2 separate regions of the Homo sapiens genome follow, and region 2 is linked to region 1. Evidence: promoter capture Hi-C in 16 types of primary human blood cells and fetal thymus (Javierre and others, 2016). All regions are on one chromosome and are shown on one strand. Each heading gives the region's core, a stretch centred on a gene start or on the middle of the fragment in contact. The rest is flanking DNA. Distances are from core to core; before and after follow the strand shown.

Region 1 (6,830 bases), core at 2,948-5,447:
CAGGGTGACTTGTGAGTCAGTGTCCTGCTGCTGGGATTCTCAAACTCAAATGGGCATCAGAAATGCCTTGGGGGGGCTCATTAAAACACAGATTGCTGGGCTTCTTCCTCAAGGTTTCTCACTCAGCCGGTCTAAGGTGAGTATGAGAATTTGCATTTTCGACAAGTTCTCAGCTGATGCTGGTCTGGGGAACCACAATTTGAAAACCATCGTCTTAGAGGAATAAATGCTGACCTTTTTTTTTTCCCATGGAAATATGCATGTGTACTCAATCTATAAACTTGACTAGCTTAGTTGGTTCTCTCTTGCATGTACCTGTAAGCAAAAACAGGGTACCACTTGTAACTTCAAATCAGAGTTCTGCCCATTCTGTCTCCACTTCATTTTGTTCAAGTTGCGACTGAGGAGCTCGGGCCATTTTTGGCCCTTTCCTACCCCTGAGGAGCCACAGTTCTTGCAGCTGGAGGATGGATTTACAATACGAACACTCATCTTTCCTCTACTCATGCATCCAGGGTCTGTCTTGCTTTATCGGGAGCCAGCAGGCTCCACCTTGAAAGATTCTCAAAGAACATCCCTGAGTCAGGGACTGACTGACCAAGGTGCTGAACCTCTCCCTCCTGTTGGGGGAAAAGTAGACTTGACTGGAGACATGGGTGGGAGACGAGACTGGGAGGCTTGAAAGCAAGGCTAACAGAGAAGGATGGTGGTGGAGGTGGAGTCAGGGGAGAGGGAGTGTCCTTGGAGATGCCCTTCTGCAGGCTTTAGTTGGTAAGTACCTTCCCACCAACCCAACTCCCCACCCCTGGGGTGAGGTCAGGGAATTAGGAAGTAAGTTGAAGTCTCAGCTTTCAGTTTCTGCACCCTGAACAGCTTGGTGATATTCACCTGACTACCTTAGCCAAAGAAACATCTTCAGTGCAATCCATTGTGTGTGGTCTGGGATGACAAGGGAAGAGATACTCTGGTGGAGTGCAACCTCTTCTTGAACATCCCTCAGGGCTCCAGCAGAGGCTGAGTTTGAAAGGCCTACAGTTCCTCTTCTCTCCTTTCCCCATCCCAGCCTCAGAGGTATCCAAAGACCAGGTGTCCCCAAGACAGCTCCCCTGGGACAAGAGACAAGAAACCTGAATTCACTATATTTTCCTCTTTTTCTGAGTCAGCCCCTTAATAGGTTAACAAGGAACCCTAACAGGTTGACAAGAAAGAATTGCATGAAAAGGAAGAAGAAGGCCCAACACTGCATCTGGGTTACAGAAAAGCATTTTGAATTTGCAGAATATCAGAGATAATTACATTCCATCAGAAATAGCAAAATGCTTTCTGAAATCAATCATACACACACACAAACACACAAACGCACATATGTAAATATGTGGAATGTTCTTTCTAGTTGTAGATAATCAGAAGCTGACCATGGTAGACTGATACTAAGTCAGAAGCTCACTCTGTGGAGTGAGACAGAGGCGGTTATTAACAATAGCATCACAGAACTGGGCGTGAAACTCTGGAGCTCTGCTCCCAGCAACTCCCCTCACTTCACAACAGCTCTAAGGGTTGTATTGTTTTTTGTTACCTCCAGGCCTTTAATTTGTCTGGTGAAGAGTAGGTGGTACCTCTGTCTGTGCACTCAATCACACCCCGTTCTCTCTGGAAACACACGTCTTCCTTCTCTTTTGTGTGTATTCAACCTCTCCCTCTCAACAGTCTTCCCATCAGATGTAAAATATGCTTGTGTCCTACTTCACTGCCCGACTCATCCATATTCACCACCTTTATTTTCTCACCTCCCATTCATTTCCCAGCCCACTCTAATTCACTTCTGGTTCTATTACTCCAGGATTCCAAGCCTCCTCTTATGTTTAATATTATTGATCAGCCCTTTCTTCTTGAACACCTCTCTCCTGGTTATCCTTCTATCTCCCTGGCAGCTCATCACAGACTCATCTTCCCCTTTGTGGCCCTTTAACACTGAAGTTCCCCAAGCCTGGTTGCAGGCCCTCTCCTCAGGCCTAGGCTGACCCATCTATCCCAAGGCTTCAAGGAATCACTCACTGTCAATGATTCGTCTCTTAACTAGCTGAACCTCAGCTCTGTATATCCAACCACCAACTTAACATCAGTTTTGGGCATCTCAAAAGCCTTCAAACAGCCAAACAGCCTGCTCTCATGATATTTTAATGCCAGTCTGGTCCTTTTCCAAGATTCCCATCTTGGTAAACCAGCACTAACATCCATCCTTGGCCACAAGCCAGAAACCTTTGAGTTTTCCTTGATGACTCCCTCTCCTTCATTGCCCCACATAACCCATCACTTGGAGAATGTGCAAGTTCTGCCCGTTGGACCTCCTAAATAATTCACAGATCTTTCCATGTCCATCAACTATTTCCATGACCATCACCCTAGATCAAGCTTCCACCTCTTACCGTCTAGGCTACTCCTACATCCACCTGGGCTCTTTCCAATAAGGAATCTTTTCAAGAAGCTATTCTGACCATGCCACACCCTTTGCTGAATATGTCAGGGGCTTCCCATTGCACTTAGGATAAAAAGATTTTCAACATGGCCAATATGGATGTCCTACGTTTGGTCCCTTTACCAATCTTCCTGACTTCATCTCATAGCTCCTTCTTCCTTGCTCCTCCAGCAGAGCTGGCCTTTCCTGAATTTCTCCATCTTATCCTGCTTAATCTCATCAGAGGACCTTTGCGTGCAAAGCTACCTCTAAAATATTCTCTGTCTAGTCAAACCTATTCCCAGCTCAAGTGACAGTTCCTCAGGGAAATCTTTTCTGGCCTTATTAACTAGTGTATTAATTGGTTTCATAGTATTATGTATCCTTAACAATTTGTATTATAAAACAGTGATAATTTTGCGTTTACTATTATTACTTTCATAGTACAGTGATTAAATCTGTAAACTCTACTGTATTGCCTGGCACTGAATGGGCATGCAATAAATAATTATTGCAGGAACAAAGGATGGCAGGAAGGAAATTAAGAAGGTTGAGAGGGAGGGAGAGAGGAAATGGGAAGAGAATGAATGAATAATCATCTGTATGTTCCCTTTCAGAATCACCAGAAACAGGCCAGCCCCACATGTAATAGGAAAGTAGTTTACCTGAAATCATTCATTTATTCAACAAATATTTATATATTCATTATTAAAGTAACTTACTTGTTTCTGATTGTGAACATAACTATTCCTCTCGGAAAACATGAGAAAATACCCAAAGTATAAACGAGAACCAAGTCACCCTTTATTCCATAGTCCAATGATGAACCATTGTTAACATAATTTGGTGTATTTCTTTCCAGGTTTTTTCTATGTGTATATATAGTATCTAAGTGGGACCATTCTATATATGACTTGTTTCTTGCTTCTTTCTCTTAATGATACATTGTGAACATGTTCCTATGTTGTTAAGAATTCCTTGAACACATGGCATTTAAATTGCTAAAATGTATTCTACCGAATGGTGTAGGTAGTTCAAACGCCTTTCCACCCGTTGTTGGATATTTAAAGGACTTGTCAATTTATCGCTTCTGTAACATTTACACGCTTTGTGGGGCCTCAGAAGTAAACCAGGTAATGCAAGGAATCTGGGAAGAGGTGGATTTGCAAGGAATCTCGGAGGAGGTGGATTTTGGAAAAACTGGAGGCAGCTTTTCCCGGGCAGCTGAAGAGAACACTTATCTCTCTGTAGGTTTCTGGGACCCGGACAGGTGTCCTCAGAATGGAACATATTGTCGGTCAAGGTAACCAGCTCTTCATCACTCAGGTGTGTGTACCGGAAGGGGGTGCCTGTTCGCTGCGCAGGTTAGGCCTAAGCGCACCTGCCCTTCAACCCTGTGCCGACGAGGCCCGAAGGCTTAAGCTCTGACCTGGCTACCGCCGCCAACCAGATGCGGTCCCCTGGGGCCACGCGCCGCCACGTGCCGCCACAGGGCCCGCCCCTCCCGCTCCAGGCCACGCCCCTCACCCACAGCCCTCGGAGGCTCTCTCCGCGGCTCCGCCTCCAAGCGACCTCCGCAAGTCCTCTCGTAACCCCTGGAGTAGCGCCGTCCCCGGGCGGCGGCCCCGCCCCCGCAATCCGGGCCCCGGGGCTGCCCCGCCCCGCCGGCCGCTCGGGAGGCGCGGGGGCGGGGCCCTGCGCGATGACGTGCGCGGGCGTGCGCGGTGACGGCCCGCGTCTCTGTTACTCAGCCGAGCGGCCGAGGCCGGACGACGCGGCTTGGATTGCGGAGCCGCGAGCAGCGCTGGGTAACGGCCGCGGCGACCACCCCGGACGGCCCCTGTCCCCGCTGGCGGGCTTCCCTGTCGCCGTTCGCTGCGCTGCCGGGTGAGTGCGGCGGACGCCGCAGGGCCGGGACGGCAGGCGGCCCCGTCGTGTTTATGTTATTGTGCCGCTGCCGCCGCCGCCGCCTTCTCCTCAGCCGTAACCCCCTCCTGGGAGTGGGGGCGGGAGCGCGCGGTGGGCGGGGGCGGCGCGGGAACAATAGCGGCGCGGAGGCGGGGGCCAGCCGAGGGGGCGTGGGGCTGCGGGACCTGGGTGCGCTCCGCTGCCCGCCAGCCCGCCTGCCGCCGCGAGCCCCGCCCGCCTGTCCTCTCGCGTCCTCTTCGCGTGGGTCCTGCCTCCGCGGCGGGAGAAGAAAATGGAGCGGGGGGGTGGGTGGCAAGTTCTGAAACACTTCGGCAAGGGTCGGACGGAGGTGTCTTTGCGGCCCGCCGCGCCCTGGCTGCCTCCGGGGCGGCGGGGAGCCGGGGAGAGCGCTTCTGCCGGCAGGTCCCCAAGCCTGCCCCGCGCCCATAGGGACCGTATTTTGCTTCTCGATGCTTTCTTTGTGCTAACGTTCTGGGCGAACGCAGGCAGCAGCGCTGAAAAGGGCCAGAGTGGCCTGCAGCTCTGGGCTGCAGGGCAGAGAGCCCAGGCCCGTGGCTCGGGTGGGAGGTGTCCATCCAGCTTGGCCCGAGCTTCGGTGGTCAGCGCGCATTTCTCTTGAGGGTCATCGGTGGTGACCTTTTGACTTTTTCACCCCACCCTCCCATCTCTTTGTCTCGCATTTGTGTTCCCGATTCAGAGATGGTAGAACCAAGTCCATTTTAAAGTACCCTGATGAACACTTTCCGTTTTTATTTCTGAAAGTTCCCTGCTTGGTCTTTACTGCGAATTTAATAACATGTTGACTACATGGCATTGTCCAGTGATTACTATTTTTACCTCTGAAATCCAGCGATCTTTCCAGTAGAATTCTGGTCCGTCAGTCCATTGTGTTTTGAGATAAGCATCCAGCAAGTACCTCCTTGGCAATTAGAACATCTGTTTTTTCATTCATTCATTCATTCAGCAGCTGTTTAGTACCGTACTCAGATGAAGAGGTTTGGTGTGAAGGTAAAGTATCCTTTCATGGAAGAGGATGCTTTGACTGAAGTATAATAGATGGACCTTTAAATGAGACAGTTACATAAGTGATGTCTGTTAAGGAAGGTATGGTTATATTCTGGGTCATTTTTTAAGCAGTATATCTGGAAGTTCAAGTGTAATAGGAAGTAGAATTAGATTTGGTCTAAATATACAACAGCTTTTATTTATTTCTAAATTTTATTTTTTCCAGTCTTGCAGCCTTACAGTCATTTGTAATGGTTACCTCAGATTCCCCTGCTGTGGTTAACGTTAAACCTAGGAGGTCAGATGCTCTAAGTGAACATGTTTAGTGCTGTGCCTGACAAAAGCAAGCAATCAAAATGGGACTTCCTTGAGGGCAGGCCTGTCTTGCATCTGTTTCTCCACCACCTAGCCTGGAATATAGTAAGTGTTCAATAAAAGTCGGATTGATGAAAAGCTCTTTGTAATTGATAATATTTAAAATCAAGCCTTAAAAAAAACCGTAATGTTCTCCATAAAGTTTTGGAAGCTTCATGCAACTGTCGCATCAGATGGCTAAATGGTCAGTTCATGTACATTATCTGTTATGATGACATGGGCTTTTGAATCACGTGTAGGTCATTCACTGTCCTAAAATAAAATCTTGTCTAAATATTTTTTTAATATGATAAATAAAGTAGGTTGTGGAGTGTGTGTTTCTGTGTATGTGCTAGTTTATGTGTGTCCGTGTGTGTGCATGTACGTAATCCACACACAGGCACTCATAAACTGGTATTTCAGTAGGGGTCTAAAATGATTGCATTTATAATTTTGTGAATATTATTTGAAAGTTTTTTGGTGACTCTTATTGTGGAAAATTGAGGACAAAACCACATAAATGTTTTATTAGAAATATTTCTAATATTTTAGAAATGTTTACTTGAAATGTTTGGTTTTAAGTTCTAACTTGTATTAACACAATTGGTACAAAATATGAGCCTAAAACTCAAAATAATTGATTTATCGAAGTTAAAGCTCTTTTCCACTTACTAAATACAGTTTAGCGTTTGTTTTGTATTTGAAAGAATATGAAATGAGTTAACTAATGAGTTTCTTATTATTTGCTGTAAAGTGGAAATGAAGAAATAAGAAAATAATACTTTTTTAAGATGATGGTTGAAAATCTTTGAGATACCAAAGTTTTATTGCTTTACCTAGTTAGGGTATGTCAGATTCTAGTAGGGGTTACTGACAATCCTTTGGCAGTAGCTCACAGGCTGTGTAAAGAACCAGAGTTGTGTTACTTTGTTTTCCAAATTGTTGGTTTTTAAAAATAGCTTTATTGCAATTTAATTGACATAAAATTCACCAGTTAGAGTGTATATATTTCGGTTTTTAGTATTTTCACAGTGTTGTGCCTTGATCACCATCACTAATTCCAGAACATTGTCATCACCCCAAGAAG
Region 2 (6,830 bases), core at 1,336-3,835, 330 kb after region 1:
ACCTTTAATGGCCCCAGTCAGCTCTCATTTCTGCAGACAATCTACCTTCCTCTGAGACTCCCAGGTCTGAGGTTTGCAGTGACTGCATGCTGGAGAAGTAAAACTGGGAGAAAGCTCCAAATGTAGGGTTCCTGTGTCCAGAGTCTCCATCATATCACTTGGTTTTCAAAAAATTCCCAAAGGAAACAATTCTCAGCCAGAGATTAACAGTGGCATCTGATTGTTTGTCTGGAAGGGAGTTCCCACTTATTCAGGGTTTACCCTGTGCCTTTCCTTGAACTCTTTTCTTTTAATTAGACATGTAATCCTTATTACAGTCTTGTGAGATATGGCCTATTGTGGTCTCACTTTTACAATGAGGAAATGAAGCAGAGAGATTATATCACTTGAGTAAGGGCATAGAGTAAGCAGGTGGTAGAACCTGGATCCACACCCAGGCCTGGCTTTCTCTAGACTGTTTTTACATTTTGTGGGAAAATGATGCCAGCAGCAGGGAGGGAGGGCTGGCTTTCCCTGTGGACTTTCCACAAGAAAATCCCTGTTGACATCCATCTGCAGAAGGAGATGGGCAGGTTAATAGAGACAGGATCATTCCACGGGGCTAAGAGGAGGAGGGAGCAGAGGGCTGGGCATGGGAGGAGGGAGAGCCTTTCCTAACTGAATGCTGGGCCAAGCTGGCTGCGGGATGCCCTGACTCCTGGAAATCTCTGGGGCAGGTGTCTGAGAGTTGACACCATGGGCATCTATGCCCTATGTTCTCCCTCACCTTCTTCCTGGCCACCAGGATGCTGCTTCCTCCCACGCTTGTTTCTATGATAACTGGCAGGAAGTGTTATCTGCTAGCCAGCTCACCTGTTGAGAGAAGCCAGTTTGCACTAGTAGCTCAGTAGTATCATGGGTAGCTGAATGGGTACTTTCAGATTTGGGTGGCGGATTTGATGGGAGCAGCCAAAAGGTGCCATCAATGTCCCTAAAAGCAGAGGTACTGCTGTGAGTGAGCACTAAAGATGGGTCAGCTCAGATCTGGGTTGAGTCCTGTCTGCCACTAACTAGCTGTGAGCTTTTGGCAAGTCAGTAAACTTCAGATCTTCTGCTTCCTCATCTAGCCAACAGGGAAAAGTGCTCTGCCCCCACAGAGCTGGGCCATAGGAGAGGATAAGCTGCTGGGTGCAGAGGGCGGTGAGCCTGCACTGTGGTTTGCCCATTTCACAACCATTCCCAGAGTCAAATCATTTCTCCCAGATGTGCAGAAACAGAAACCATTGTAGGAAACTGGGTCTCTAAGAAGAGCCGCTGACTCAGCCCTTATTTGGTTCTGTGGCTGGGGGTGGGTGAGCCTGGGCTTCCGCTTGGCTCCCTAGAGGGTAGTGTGGCTGGCAGGGCATCTGTCTAGACACTCTCTGAGGCTCTGCCCAGCCTGTTCTTTGGAATAGACTCTCCTCTGCTTCTCAGGGCTGACAGCTCTGAGCCCAGGAAAGCAAGAGGGCTGAATTGTGTCCCCCGACTCCAGTTCATGATGAAGCCTAACCCCCACCGCCCCATACAGAAAGTGGCTGTATTTGGAGATAGGGCCTTTAAATATCAAAGTTAAAATGAGTGATTAAGTTAAAATGAGGTCATTAGGGTGGGCCCTAGTCCAATATGACTAGAGTTCTTATAAGCAGAGGAGATAAGGACACAGATACCAACTGTGTGAAGACACAGGAAGAAGGTGATATTTACAAGCCAAGGAGAGAGGAGAAAGAAGCTTGCTAACACATTGATCTTAGACTTCCAGCCTCCAGAATGGGAAAAAATACATGTATGTTGTGAAAGCCCTGGGGCCCGAGGTGCTTTGTCATGGCAGCCCGAGCAGACTCATGTACCTGCCCTCCCTCTTCCTCAGTGTGAACAAGGGAATTCCAGCACCCATGGGAGGCTCTTGGAGGCTAGGCTCCTTCTGGGTCCACCGTGAATGAAGCACTTCACCTTGTTTCTGGGCCTCTGTCTCTTGTTGCCCCCACCCCCACTTCTGCACTGGGCCTGGTGTTTCCCTGGACCCCGACTCCCTGTCTCCTCAGGCATGACTAGTTTCATACTCCTCCAAGGTTGGTAAGAGAAAAATGCCTGGGGTTTAGGTTATAGCTTGAAGCACAGCTTTGGGTGCTCCGTAACTTGTCCCAGCCCCTTGGCCAGCTCCAAGTTCAGCCACAGCTGTGGTGAAACGTCCCCTCTTAGGTGAGCCCACTGATGGCTTCCCGCTCCAGGCTCTCAGCCCTCGGCTTTCTCTGAAGCCACAGGGACCCTAAGCCCTGGGCAAACAAATGCAGTCCAGAAGGGCTGGGTGTCCACACCCCTGGGGTTGCCCTCAGCCAAGGGAGAAAGGGGGCCGGGTAACCCCCACCCTCTCCCCTTCCAGGCTTATGGCAGGTGAGTCTGCACTCTTCCCAGAGTCCCTGTGGAAGTGAGTCTTGGGACAGCAGCAACCTTCATTATGCCCCTCACACTGGCCTTCCCTCCTTCCTGGTGTCACTCTTTGCCCCATCAGTCCTGCTTCCTGGCATCACCTCCCAAATAAACCACCTGCACCCAAGCCCTTGTCTTAGGCTCTGCTATTGGACAACATAAACTTAGACTACTTCCTGGCTGGGGAAGCAGGATGGAAGGACTGCACTTTTGAGCTTCAGTTTTCTCCTCTGTAAAATGGGAACATTAATATCTTGCAAGCTGGCTACAGGAATTAAATGACATCACCCCTGTGGATATTGAAGAGAGTTGTAAACCGTGCAAGGTGATCTCAATGTTGTTATTTATTATTATTTTTAGTTTGGTGGTAGCATCAGGTCCTTACTCTCTCTCTCTTTTCATTAAAGAAAGAAGAAGGAAAATCTCCATCTTCAGACTCATTTCCCAGGGGTCCTGTGCTGCCAGGTGCAGGTGAACATCCTGGAGAGGCTTGGGGGTTAAGGGGTTAATGACATGGCTGCTCCTTCTTCCTCTGCCCTGCACAGCTTCAGCATTTCTCTGGTGGCTGTCGATAAAGGCATGTTAGCTGTGGGGACACTGCATGAAGGAGACATTCAGGGTGTCTGGGTCTTTCCAGCCCAGCCCTGCATCCATGCTGTCTGTGTGCCTGTGTCCCATGCTTGGTGCTTGTGCAGGGAGACTGGGGTGAGCAGGATGGAGGCCTTAGAGCTTGTGGTATGGCCCTGGTCCTCTTCCAGGAATGTCTGCTTGAGTCTGCCCACTGGGCTGCTCCTGCCCAGGCTCCAAGAGCCAACAGGGATTCTCCCTGCTCTGAGACCCTGCCCTGAATCCATGGGTTGCATCGGGGTCCTCCTGTTTCTTGCTGCTCCTTGTACCACCTGCACCACAGCCCTGCCCTTTTGCAGACCACGATCTCCTAGAGAGGAGGGGATATATCTTTACACGTGTTATGTGTGTCCAAGCTTTAGAGCCATGACTGCTGGCAAACAGTACCAGCTCAAGACCCATGGCTATAGTCATCGCTAGTAGGACAGTGGGAGACCAGTGAGGAGTTCTCACCTGAGGTCACCACAAAGAGGCCACGAAGTGGGCAGGCAAAGCCCAGACCTTGAGTGGCATGCAAAACCCAGAGTGCTGGGAGGGAAGTCAGAAGGGACAGGACAAAGGGTTCAGGAAGCAGAGCCACTCATAGAATCAGGATATGAAAGTAAAAGGTAACAAGTTGGAATAGTACATTGGGGTGGGCAGAAGACATATCAGGGAGGGCCGGAGTCTGAGAGGCTTTCTCATGATGGCCAGGACTTTAGCTTCATTCTGAGAGCTCCAGCGTGAAGGGCCAGAATGGGTGGTTAGGACAATCAGAAAAGCTGCCTGCATACACATTGCTGCCATCCCTGCCAGGCCAGTCTCTGAGAAGCTGATCTCCCCAGAAGCCAACCAGGCCTCTAGATGAATGCCACTGAGAGTTTACTGCCCTGGGCATCCATATTTCTGAAGCTGCAGATGGAGACAGGCTCCAACTATTGTGTCGAGGTGGGGGGCAAGGGGTAGAAAGGAGCCATGAATTATTGCTTGTGTGAGGCCACACAATAGGTGTCATTCATCACTCACAGAGCTGTTGTCCAGAGATGGCCGACAGGGGACACAGGTATACAGATGGATGGATGGATGGTGAATGAATGAGTGGCAGATGAGTAGCCAATGGATGAATGGTGAATGAGTGGGTGGATGGGTGGGTGGATGGACGGGTGGGTGAATGGGTGGATTTGTAGGTAGATGGATAGATGGTAGATGGGTGGGTAGATGGATGGATGGTAAAGAAATGAGTGGATGAATGACTGGTGGATGTATAAATGGATGGATGGATGGGTAAATGGATGGATGGATGGGTAGATGGATGGATAAATGGTGGATGGGTGGGTGAATGGATGGATGGCAAATGGGTGAATAGATGGATGGATAGATGGATAGATGGATGGTGGATGAGTGGATGGGTGGATGGATGAATTGTGGATGAATGGGTGAATGGATGGTGCTGGGATCAGTGAGACGGGATGAAAAGAAGGCAGAACCTGCTGGAAGGGTCAGTAAGAAAAGGCACAAAGTATCCTCACTTCACCTACCCCTTCACCTACATTCCCCTCCCAACAAGGATGTCTCCATCCTCCTCGCTGCTAAAGCCAGTAGGCTGGCATCAACTTACCTTCTTTCTCCCCCTTTTCCACATGCTGCCAGCCACTTGTGCATTCCATCTTCTTAGACTCTTATGTTTCTACCACCACTTTTTGGCCTATATTCTCATAAGCTCTCCCTTGGACTGCTTAAGTAGTCTCCTGCCTAGTAGCTCTCCCTGCTCTGGTCTCTTCTCCCTCTGCCCATCCACTACCCCTCCTAGAGCCATTCCCTTAGAATCTTAGAATGGCTTCCAATCTTCCACCGTTTTCCCCTAACAGAAACTACAGAATGAGGTCTGGTAGCTGCTTCGTAATGCAACTTGGCTAGGCTGAGTTACACTTCCCAGGATTCCCTTTTGTGTATCTTTCCTATAAGTCTGTGCCACGGGGAGATTCTTGGGGGGATTTGGGAGACATACATTGCTGCTGATCAGTGGAATCACCTCATCAGTGTGAAGCAGCAGCTGGGCCTGCCATTGTTCCACCTTCCCATGAAGCCTTGGGCAGCTTCTTCAACTCGCGGGCCAGGAGTGTGTGTGTTGTGTGTGTGTGTGTATGTTTAGCTTAATGATGAAGGGCCCTGGCTTCTGCAGGATTACCTTGTACCACTAAAACTAATCATCTCATTACCCAGCTAGAAACCCCAGACACCTGAGTGCCTCCCCTGCCCAGTACTGTCAAGTGTTGTCCATTTTTCTTCCCAGTATCTCTTGAACCTCATTTTCCCTCTACATTCTTACTTACTCAAGCCCTCAGGAAGGTCACCTGACCACCATTAGTCCCATCTCCATGCTATTTATTCATTCATTCAACAAACAAGTATTAAACATATATTATGTGCCAGGCATAATTCTAGGCACCGTGCAAAGAGCTCTATCTTTAAACTTCCCCTTCCCCTCCTAATTCTAGTGGTGCTTAATGAACAAAGGGATAATGGCAATAATGCCTGCAAGATCGTGCCTATATCCTAATAAGAAAGCGGATATGGGAAACTTGAAAAAAAGAAGTAAAAGGCAGGACTTCCAGCTATGGCTAAATGATGAAGTCAGCAAATTCTCTCCCAAAAACACAATCATAAATCTTGAAAAAACTGACATAAACAACCATTTCTGTACTCTGGAAATTGACCAAAGACATGCAACAATCAGAAAAGTAGTTATGCTTGAAAAACTTCTAAACTTTGAGTAAGAACAGAATGAGTCTGCTTTGCACTGTTGTACTGTTTGTTAGGGCAATTCCCATCCCACTTCTCTAAGCTCAGTCCTCACACAGGTTCTGTCAGGGTGGGGCATTGTCATGGGGAGCAGCAATTTTGCGCATGCAGTCCAAAGTTGCTTATTCAATTATGATTGTCAGTACTACTGACAATACTGGCAGCTAGTGAATGGGGAGGACCAATGCTCAATTAGTCTGAGGTTGCAGTCAAGGTTGGGGCAAATATATTCCTGGCTTGGACTGTATGCATGTGCAGTGGAGACCAAAGATAGCTCAAAGTATCCACACATTCTTGCCAACTCTAAGACTGAGGGCATGTGCAGAGGTTATATGAAAGGTCCAACAGAAAGTAAAAGCCAAGGCAGTCTTGAAAACAACCTGAACTTTGAGAGTATTTCCCTACCCATGCACAGATCTATGGGCAGAGAATAGAGGGCTTACGGGCTCATGGTTTGTATATGACATCTGTCTCATCACTGGCTGATTACTAAATTACACAGAAACAAGAGTGACCCCTAGGAAGGCAGGTTTAAAGGTACGAGCAAGAGTAAAGGCAAATATAACAGATATTAGTGGCTATGTTCTGTGAGGGAGACAGATTTCACAGATTTAGGCTAGGCAAGTTATTAAACAAATGAACAATTTAACAACAACATTAATCATGTGAGAAAATCAGAATTCAGCGTTCTTAAAATATGTTATCTAAAATGCCCACTTTCTAACAACCAAAAAACAAAAGGGAAGTACAAAGGAAAAGTGTGACTCATATGTAAAAAAAAAAGTCAATTGAAACTGTCTCTTTGAGTATTGCCAGATTTTGGATTTAACAGAGACTTTCAAAATAGCTATTGTAAATATGTTTACAAAAACTTAAAGAAACATGATTGAAGAATTACAGGGACATAGGACAATAATAAATCAATAAATAGAGAATTTCAATGAGATAGAAAATATTTAAAACCAAATGGAAATGCT

What was found. The method cuts DNA at HindIII sites, captures the fragments that hold promoters and counts their contacts. A CHiCAGO score of 5 or more calls a contact.
Region 2: a contact is called between a fragment that was not itself captured here and the fragment with the promoter of MAPK8 in region 1, in 1 of 17 cell types (monocytes). The highest score is 5.8, in monocytes.

The regions. Positions count from the first base shown.
Region 1 is chr10:48,302,480-48,309,309 of GRCh38, forward strand. It overlaps MAPK8 (mitogen-activated protein kinase 8), which reads left to right and starts at 4,198. Exons shown (of 12, transcript NM_001323329.2): 1 at 4,198-4,342. RefSeq lists a silencer at 3,829-4,778. The HindIII fragment of the contact is 3,503 bases long and covers 2,411-5,913 here.
Region 2 is chr10:48,633,221-48,640,050 of GRCh38, forward strand. It overlaps a transcript of ARHGAP22 not described here. Among named protein-coding and RNA genes, the nearest start is that of ARHGAP22, 32 kb to the left of the region's middle. The HindIII fragment of the contact is 1,681 bases long and covers 1,746-3,426 here.